Regions from separate parts of the Homo sapiens genome. Here all the other regions are linked to region 1. Evidence: promoter capture Hi-C in 16 types of primary human blood cells and fetal thymus (Javierre and others, 2016). All regions are on one chromosome and are shown on one strand. Each heading gives the region's core, a stretch centred on a gene start or on the middle of the fragment in contact. The rest is flanking DNA. Distances are from core to core; before and after follow the strand shown. Region 1 holds the start of INHBB (inhibin subunit beta B). Region 2 has its middle 47 kb from the start of GLI2. Region 3 has its middle 96 kb from the start of GLI2.

The links. Contacts are between HindIII fragments. The CHiCAGO score rates a contact against its expected background, and 5 or more counts as called.
Region 2: a contact is called between a fragment that was not itself captured here and the fragment with the promoter of INHBB in region 1, in 2 of 17 cell types (M0 macrophages and M1 macrophages). The highest score is 5.7, in M0 macrophages.
Region 3: a fragment that was not itself captured here is called in contact with the fragment with the promoter of INHBB in region 1 in 1 of 17 cell types (endothelial precursors); the score reaches 5.1 in endothelial precursors.

The regions. Positions count from the first base shown.
Region 1 is chr2:120,344,540-120,347,547 of GRCh38, reverse strand. It overlaps INHBB (inhibin subunit beta B), which reads right to left and starts at 1,412. Exons shown (of 2, transcript NM_002193.4): 1 at 912-1,412. The coding sequence starts at 1,359. It overlaps LOC105373989 (putative cuticle collagen 91), which reads right to left. Exons shown (of 3, transcript XM_047446882.1): 3 at 1,555-2,661. The coding sequence ends at 1,634. The HindIII fragment of the contact is 14,502 bases long and covers 1-2,012 here.
Region 2 is chr2:120,687,760-120,690,767 of GRCh38, reverse strand. No RefSeq gene overlaps it. Among named protein-coding and RNA genes, the nearest start is that of GLI2, 47 kb to the left of the region's middle. The HindIII fragment of the contact is 5,337 bases long and covers 1-3,008 here.
Region 3 is chr2:120,638,181-120,641,188 of GRCh38, reverse strand. No RefSeq gene overlaps it. Among named protein-coding and RNA genes, the nearest start is that of GLI2, 96 kb to the left of the region's middle. The HindIII fragment of the contact is 1,499 bases long and covers 665-2,163 here.

The DNA of each region.
Region 1 (3,008 bases), core at 163-2,662:
TCCTGAAAAGGACAGCGGAGTCGAAAGCACTTGCAGCATTTTGGCGCGGGCACATTTTTCTCCTTCTTTTAAAGTTCCGAAAGATTTTTCTCTCCCTGATTTTTATATTTAGACAGTGTTAGAGATTTGCAATCTGGGGCCGGGGGGGGGGGCGGATTCCAGAAAGGAGCCATACCCTTTGTTAACTACGACTCTGCCTCTCGGGCGAGGGGTCTGCTGCAGCTGCCAGGCAAGCCGAGAGGCACGGGGCTGTCCCCGAACCGCGGCTTTCTCTGTGTAAATGATGGACCTGTTGAGAAGCCTGCCTTCCGCCCGATTCCGGTGCCCACACAATCGGAAGAGAGGTTGCCTAGCTCTCCCCAGCGAGGCTTCAGCAATCCTGGCAAGCCCACGCCGCCGGTGATGGAAGCGGCCCCAGGGGCCTCTCACGCAGGCACACACACACACAGACACACACACAGATACACACACACTCTCTCTCTCCTCCGGCCCACGTATATCAACAAGCACACACATCTCCATCCACACTGCTAAGCCTACACTCCGATCGTGGGAAACAAAAACATTAAGCAATCACCAAGCAAGTGCCCGCAGAGCCAGGGCCGCGCGCATCTGCCGGGAGGGGGACGCGCGCCCAGAGGCGCTGGGGCCCGATTCCGGAGAGCAGGGGTGGAGGGCCAGGCGATCGGCGGCGGGGGGTTGAGGCAGCAGGCAAGGGTCTGCGGCCTGGGGGAAGAGGACTGCAACCCGGGCGGAGCGCGCAGGGCCACGGCCGAAGGAGCTCTGCCGGGAGTCCAGGCTGCCCCAGGGCGCGCGGGCTGCGGTGGCGGCGGTGGCAGCCGGAGCTAGCAAGGAGAGGGAGAGCGGGAGCGAGCGGGGACCGCGGCAGACAGCCGGAGGGCCGGACCCACCTGTCTCGGCGAAGCTGATGATTTCGGAAACGCGCTCCTGGCCGTCGGCGCCCGGGCTGGCGTGGCCGTCGAGGTGCGGGATCTCCACGCGGCCGTCCTCGCGCACCTTGCCCGCGTGCAGCTTGCGCAGGGCCGTGACCATGGCGGCCTTAGGCACGGCGTGCGTGATGTTGGGCCGGCCCCGCATCTGCAGGCGGCTCAAGATGTGCCGCTTCACCGCCTCCAGGAAGTCGCCGTCCACTCGGCCGAGCTCCTCTGGCCGCCGGAAGCCGCCGCACGACGTACAGGTGTCCTGCGAGCCACCCGGGGATCCGGGTGGCGGGGGTGGCGGCGGCGCGGCAGGCGTCGGCGGGGGCGTGGGTGAGCCCCAGGCCTCAGGCCCCAGCCAGCCGGCCGCCAGCAGCAGAAGGCAGGCGGCCCCCAGCGCCCGACCGGGCAGCCCGTCCATGGTGCGCCGCTGGCGACGAGGGCGCCCGCCGCGAGGCGAGCCGAGTCGAGCCGAGCGCAGGGCCGGGCTCCGGGCTCCGGGCGCGCCGCCCCGCCCCGCCCCCGCCCGCGCCCGCGCCCGCCCGGGCCTCCGCCCGCCCGCCCGCCGGGAGGGCTGCCGCCGGCTCGCAGGGGGAGGGGGCCGGCCGGGCCTCGGGGGTTCCCGCGCGGCAGGGAAGGGGCGCCGAGGGCCCCGGGGGCCCGAGGGGCGCGCCGGGCGGGGCGGAGGTCGCGGGTCACTGCCGCACGGGCGTCTCGGGGCGCCTCGGCATCTGCAGCCTTCTCCCCATCCTTTCCGCGTCGGGGGCCCCGCAGCCCCGGTTCGGGTGAAGCGAAAGCAGCGTCAGTGGGAGCGGCGGTTCGGCCGGCGGCTGGGGAAGGTGGCGAAAGAGCGGGTCCACGCAACTTGGCTGAGACGGAAGCGAAGGCGCTGGAGCCCCCCGGAGCGGAGCCGGGCGCGGCTTGGCGCGGCGCTGCGGCGGGCGCTGCGGCGGGGCCCCGCGCTCGCACCTGAGCGCCTCGCCCTCACTGCCTCGCGCCAGGAAGGGCCGCCGGCGGCGGAGACGGGCAGGTCGTCCTCGCCGCGGGCCGGCGGGCAGTGGCGCGGAGCAAGCTTGGTGCCCGGGAGAGCCGGCCGCGCGGGCCCGCTCACAGGCGGCGCCGAGCCCTCGGCCGCGGGCCCTGCAGTCCTCCCGGCGCGTCACACGGCAAAGTTGTCTCCAGGATCCCTGGGCGCCGCATCCACGGGCGGGCGGCCGCAGCGCGCTTCGCCGGGGCCTCTGCTCCGCCCGCCTCCTCGCAGCCTCCCTCCTTCCCTCCGCCTGCCTGCGCGGCCCGGCCGGGCGCGGGGCGCCGGGCGAGGAAGGCGAGGGGGAGGCAGGGCCCTTCTCGCTCCTGTCTCTTCTGCCTGCCGCGGCGGCGGCGAGGTCGGCTCGAGCGCCGAAAAGTCTCGCAGCGTCCCCGGGTGCAGTGCCCTCGCTCGCGCTCGTACTGGCACCCGCCGCAGGGCCGGGAGAGAGCGGGCGGGCGGCGGCGGCGTCCCCGCGCCGGGCCGCGGCACGGAGTGCGGAGCTCGCCGAGGAGGAGTTCTTCTCTTTGGTCTCTCTTCTTTTACTCTCCCCGTTTTTTCTCCCAAGGGGGAAAAAAGCCGCACAATCTCCGTATGTGCGCGCGCGTTGAGATAGACGTTGGCAGAAAAAAGGGGGGGAGGGAGGGTGTCGTCCTGCCCGTGCGAGAGGAGACGGTCCGTACCTCCCCGCTCGAGCTTCCCGGGGTGGGGGGAGGAGGAGAAAGCGGAATCTGTTCAGGTTGGGGCTGCCCGCTCCCCGCGCTCACCCCTGCTTCCCACCGCTTTTTTCCTTTCTGCCTTCCCGAGAAGGAGGGGCGAGCCGGCCCTCTCCCCTCCCCTCCTCTCCCCTCCCACCCCCCGCAATGCCGGGCTACTTTTGCTACCTCGAAACTTTCCCACCACGTGGGCGCCCCGGACCCTTGCCCAGCTGGGCGGCCGGCGGCACCGACGGGTTCCAGGCGCTGGACCCAGGCGCTCCTCCCGGCCCACTCCCGCCTCCCCGCCGCCGCGCAGGCCCTGCCTCTGTCCCAGCTGCCGCCCTC
Region 2 (3,008 bases), core at 144-2,643, 340 kb before region 1:
TCCCCGGGTGATGTCCTCTAGCCTCTGCAGGAGGCCTTCTGAGGCAGGAGCTATGAGGAACCCACATCAACCTCTTTCGTCCCAGTATGCTCTGAGTGCCGCGGAACTCCCCATGACAGAGCAGCCAGCAGCCTCTCTCATCCTTCCTGTTCCTCAGGTGTCACTCAGACGTCTGCCTACTGTGCCCAAACTGCAGCTCTCCAGTCGTCACCTGAACATCCCTTGTTTTTGACTTCTGGTAAAAAGAAGAGCTGCCAGCACCCCAGTGACGTTTTCCAAGGAAACCCCCGTCCCCTCCTCCCTGACCTCCACTTCCCGCTAAACCGCTTTTTGAATATGCGTTCTTTGCAAGTCCTCGTGGGGTTCTTGCACCTCACCTTTACCAGGTCATAACTCTTGTTTTGTGGCCTCAACCAAAATGGAAACCCAAATGGCTGGCAATGTCTGAAGAGGGACTGACATTTCAGATGACTGTAAGTGAAGTTCCTTGGCGTCATTTCCATCATAGCACTTACCCTGTAGTGAAATGAGCTTAGTGAGCCGCTCTCACGGACAGCCAGTCTTGTGGTCACTTAGGGTTTTTTTTCTTTTTCTTTTTTGAGACAGGGTCTCATTGTGTTGTCCAGACTTGCCTGGAACTCCTGGGCTCAAGAGATCCTCCCCCCTCAGCCTCCCATGTAGCTGGGACTACAGGTGTGCACCACCGCACCCGGCTCCTAACTCACTTATGTTTACATGACCAAAAATACACATTTGTTTGCAGGGTTTCTTAACTATCAATGTGTCCAGCTTCCAGTGGAAATTGACTTATGTTTCTGCTTTTTAAAATCTGCAGGGGGGACCTCAATTATTTCAGCTTCCTGGTACATCTCTTCCTCTTTCTGGAACTCTAGGGAGGAGCGGCTTTCTTTCTGCTGGGGTTGCTGAGCTGCTGGGGTGTCAACCAGGAGATGCTGTGGGCCCTCTTCATCCCTCATGAAAACAGTCTGCCTGACACCAAAGGCATCTCAGAGAAAAGCAGAGGCAGAGGTGGAGAGAATCTGAGCTGGTGCCAGACAGCACCCGTACACTCAGATCCAGCTATACGTGAAGCTGTGGCTCTACCCAGGACTTTTTACTGATGTGAGTCAGGATCCAAATCTGGAGGCTTGAAAATCCAGCCCTTTCCTTCTTTCCTCCTTCTTAGTACAATCATGGAATCTAACATTACATGAGACCGTCCATATTTGTTGAGCTGATATTGACTAAACTGGATTCCATGTTGTGTGGTAGGTCCTGTGCTAGCCACTGCAATCCAGCACTGAATCAGACATGGCCTCTGCTCATAGGCAGCACCCAGTCCTGTTAGCAGCCAGTATTCTCCTCCAGACTTCTACCTTGACTCTAAGCCCTCAATTTTCAAAAATTGGACTTAGAACTGGTGTGGGTTCCACAAAGATTCCTAAAATTTGCTTCCGCATTGGCTTCACTTGTTGTTATTGTCCCTGCCTTACAGATCTCTTCATATCTTCACTCCCAGCCCAGGGAAAGAAGACAGGAAAATAAAACACAGTGGGCACTGGTAGGGTGGGGTCTTGTGACCAAGACAGCCTCAGTCCATCCTCCATGGACTAACACTCCAATTGGTCAACCAAGTGGTGGTAAACGTAGCAGTAGGACTTATGATTGAACCATCAAAATTCATGAAATTAACTGTGTAGTTGGTGAAACGTATTATAGTTCCATCTGTCCTGGGACAATGCTAACTTCACCACATTTTAATCCTGAGTGCTGAAATGAAGGTGTTGCAGCTGGAGAGGTGTGAAATTAATGAGAGAGCATGGAGGTGAACCAAGAAAATAACGAATCAGTCCCTTCCCTGCTCTCTGCTGGTTTCAGACTCCTGAGGGCAGAAGTGCTCGAATGGGCAGACATTTGTCTGGTAGCTCTTAGGTGAACTATATGGAACTATCGATACTCAACTGTTGATCTGCAAAAATGGCAATTTCATATGGTCTGAACTACTCCTGCCATAATCTTTTTTTTTTTTTTTTTTTTTTTTTTTGAGACGGAGTCTTGCTTTGTCACCCAGGCTGGAATGCAGTGGCACAATCTTGGTTCACTGCAAGCTCCACCTCCCAGGTCCACGCCATTCTCCTGCCTCGGCCTCCCAAGTAGCTGGGACTACAGGTGCCCACCACCACGCCCGGCTAATTTTTTGTATTTTTAGTAGAGATGGGGTTTCACCGTGTTAACCAGGACGGTCTCGATCTCCTGACCTCGTGATCCACCCACCTCGGCCTCCCGAAGTGCTGTGATTACAGGCTTGAGCCACCGCACCCAGCCTACTCCTGCCATAATCTTGCAAAACTGGATATTCTAAAGGAAACCAATCCTGATTGATAAAGTGTGGAATTCAGTTGCTCTGTGAATCTTCTACCACAAACACGAAATTTAGTGTCAAGGACATTTTGGTGGTCTGGAGATGGGGTGAGGATGTAATGGTACATTAGAAACATCCCTTCCCCATGCTGTGTGTAAGGTGGTCACATGAGGGCCTGACTTGGAGAAGACCCTGCAACAGGAAGACTCATAGAACCTTGCAAAGTCTCTGCTTCAAGTCAGCCTTAAAGGGGGAACATGGTCCCATTCTTATGGTATGGTGTCACCACATGGCTAGAGAATTCCAATGGCCTCCTCCTCCTCTGGGTCATCACTTTAACTAAGTACGGATTGAATTCTTAGAAGTAAAGGATGGTTAAGCCCATAGCATGTGGTTTGGTGTAAAACAAGAACTCAATAAGCCTAGCTACCATTATGTTTCTAGTAATAGTTTTTAGACACATTCTAAATTTCTCCCAGGGTTGAATCAGGGAGGATAGGATGACAGACATGGGCTCTATATAAAGAAAAATGTTCTCCCAGTCAGAGCTTGCTGAGGTTGCAAAGGCTGCTCCACAGAACAGAGCATCCGCCATTGCTGGAGGAATGGAGCCCAGTTGCTTTCTGTGTGTAGATGCTGCAATAAG
Region 3 (3,008 bases), core at 165-2,664, 290 kb before region 1:
GAAACAGAAGAGCCAGCCCAGGAGAGAGACTGAGGGATTTCCCCAGAAGAGGGACTGAGAGATTTTCCCAAGATTATGGAGAAGAGAGATAGCAGGATGAAGCTTTGTACCCAGCAGGTCAGAAGGCTTGGGGAGGGTCTTCTCCATGCTGACAAAATTGACAGAATACCTGATGGGAAAGAACAAATGCAAAGATAGCTAGACAATGGAGAGTTTGGTATTGAATTAGTGATCAGTACATAGAAAAGAAACAAAACAAGATAATTATTAACTCTTGGGGTGGCAGCAGGGGGGATGTGCAGGAAGGAAAAGCAAATGTAGTTTATTATATAGCTCAGTTCTGAACAAATCGCCGTAACACCATAGACAGTGAATCTTTATCCAACCAATGTCCCACGAATCTCTGCTGGGAGTTTGAGGGAGAGGCAAGTGTGTGTGGTGGGAACAAAGGGTGGCGATGTAGGGATGAGGAGAGCTAAACTCACATCTTCTTGTCTCCCAGAGTTGGGGTCAATGGATAATGCCTAGAATGAAAGCATCAGGAAGTAGCAATACTCACATGTTTTTTGTAGAGATGGAGAGATAAATAGCTAAAAGGGTTGGCATGATAGCACGTAGTGAAAAAGGAAAGGGAGAGGGTAGTGGAAGAGGTCTGGGAAAAGCTTCTTTTCTTAGCAAATCCAGTAAATCTAGTCAACCCTTTAAGTCGTGTCTGTATGTTCTTTTTTTATCATGCATACATTTTAAAATATTAATTCTCTCATGTCAAATATCCAGTCAGTTCAAAATTTCAATTTTTGAATGCATGTTCCTTTTTAAAAAGTTTGTTAGAACTTAAATCAGGGGCCAGGCGCAGTGGCTCATGCCTGTAATTCCAGCACTTTGGGAAACTGAGCAGGCGGATCACCTGAGGTCAGGAGTTCAAGACCAACTTGGCCAACATGGTGAAACCCCGTCTCTACTAAAAATACAAAAATTAGCTGGGCGTGGTGGCACATGCCTGTAATCCCAGCTACTCGGGAGGCTGAGGCAGGAGAATTGCTTGAACCTGGGAGGCAGAGGTTGCAGTGAGCCAAGATTGCGCCACTGCACTCCAGCCTGGGAGACAAAGCAAGACTCCGTCTCAAAAAAAAAAAAAAAAAAAAAGAATCAGGATCCAAATAAGGATCTTTCTCTCTCTTTCTAGTTCTCATTCTCACTTTTGTGCATCCCTCTCCACTTCTGTGCCAGCTATTTGTTTGTTGAAACAGGCCATCTGACCTACAGCTTTTGCTGGATTTTTTTTTTTTTTTTTTTTGAGACGGAGTCTTGCTCTGTCACCCAGGCTGGAGTGCAGTGGCACGATCTCGGCTCACTGCAAACTCCACCTCCGGGGTTCACGCCATTCTCCTGCTTCAGCCTCCAGAGTAGCTGGGACTACAGGCGTCTGCCACCATGCCCGACTAATTTTTTGTATTTTTAGTAGAGACGGGGTTTCACCATGTTAGCCAGAATGGTCTCAATCTCCTGACCTTGTGATCCACCCGCCTCGGCCTCCCAAAGTGCTGGGATTACAGGCGTGAGCCACCGCGCCCGGCCTTTTGCTGGATATTTCTAATTGTGTCTCCATGAACTTGGCTAACATCTCCCTCTGTCCTCTGCACCTGCCGTAGTCTTGTAGTGCAGTCTTGATCAGTTTCAGCGTTGGTGTCTCTTTTTGGCAGATCTTTATCATAGGGGATCTTATATTCTTCCATAAGAGACATATTGGGGGTGATTGTTTTTCATTTTGTGATATTAGCAGTTATTGATCAGAGCTTAGATTCATTAATTCACTAGAGGGTGATGCTCCATCATTCGGCTTTCATTTCCTATCCAGAATACTTCTCTAAAAAGACACTTCTCATCTATTTGGCTACATTGTGATACAGGTCGTATAGGAAAAACAGGGTAAATGTTTGATTCTGTCATTTTATTTTACTAGCTTTTAAAATAATGACTTAGTTCATGAGCCTCCACAGGAGGTGACTAATATTTCTTAACACACTCAGTAAAACTAGCTGACACTTTCTACACCTTTTTAAGATTTTATTTTTATCAAAAACATACACACAATAAAATCTTAAAAAGGTGTATAAAGAAGGAAAAAGAAAAGGAGGAAAACAGATCATTTTTCAGGAAGCTTAAACATTCTTTCATGTCAAGGGCTAAATTTATTCCTACGCTTCTTACCAGCCGATGCCAAGAGGGGAAGAGACGGCCCACGCAGTGTACTCTGGGTTCCATAAGTCAAAGCCTTCATTTGGTCTGAACAAACAAATTTTCTTCCTGCACAAAGAGCATATTGGACATGGCCACCTCTTTTGGCTTGGGGTCATCAGCCTGGATGGTGAGGCTCCTGGGGCTGTGGAAACATGTGAGGATGTTTATCCTTGTACATCACGTGCCCAAGTGTGCTAAGTCACACCTCTGTGCGTTCACCCATACCATTCCCCTGCTTGACCTGCTTGCACTCCAGCATCTGGCCAGTCTCATGCACCCTTCCTGGCTGAGCTCAGGGGTCATCTCCTCCAAGAAAGCTTTCTCATGATTAGGCCAAGTGTCCTCCCACTTCTTCCGGCTCCCGCTGGGCCCTGTACCCCTCCTTGGCTTTCTCATTGCCAAAGCCTTGCCACCTGGAGCACACCCAGCTCATAGTAGGTGCACTGTCCATGGTTTCTAAACTGAGCTCAAGTGCTTTCTAGTGGAATTTCTTCTCTTTCTTAAGCATCAGGCAGCTAGTGGTCATGCGGTGCCTGGCCCCTCACTTCTAATCTGGAACTTTCAGTAAGTGAAAGACCAGAAAACAAGACATGCAGCAAGTTATGACTGTCTGTTAACCAAGAGTCACTAGATTCTGAGGAGGCCCAAATACCTGCTGGAGTAGATCTGACCGAGTTTAGGTCATGGACTTAGCTACGTTCCACTTCTCTCTCCACATTTGGGCTCTGAGTGTGCTTGGTTTGACTGAAGCTGCCAGGATGCTGGGT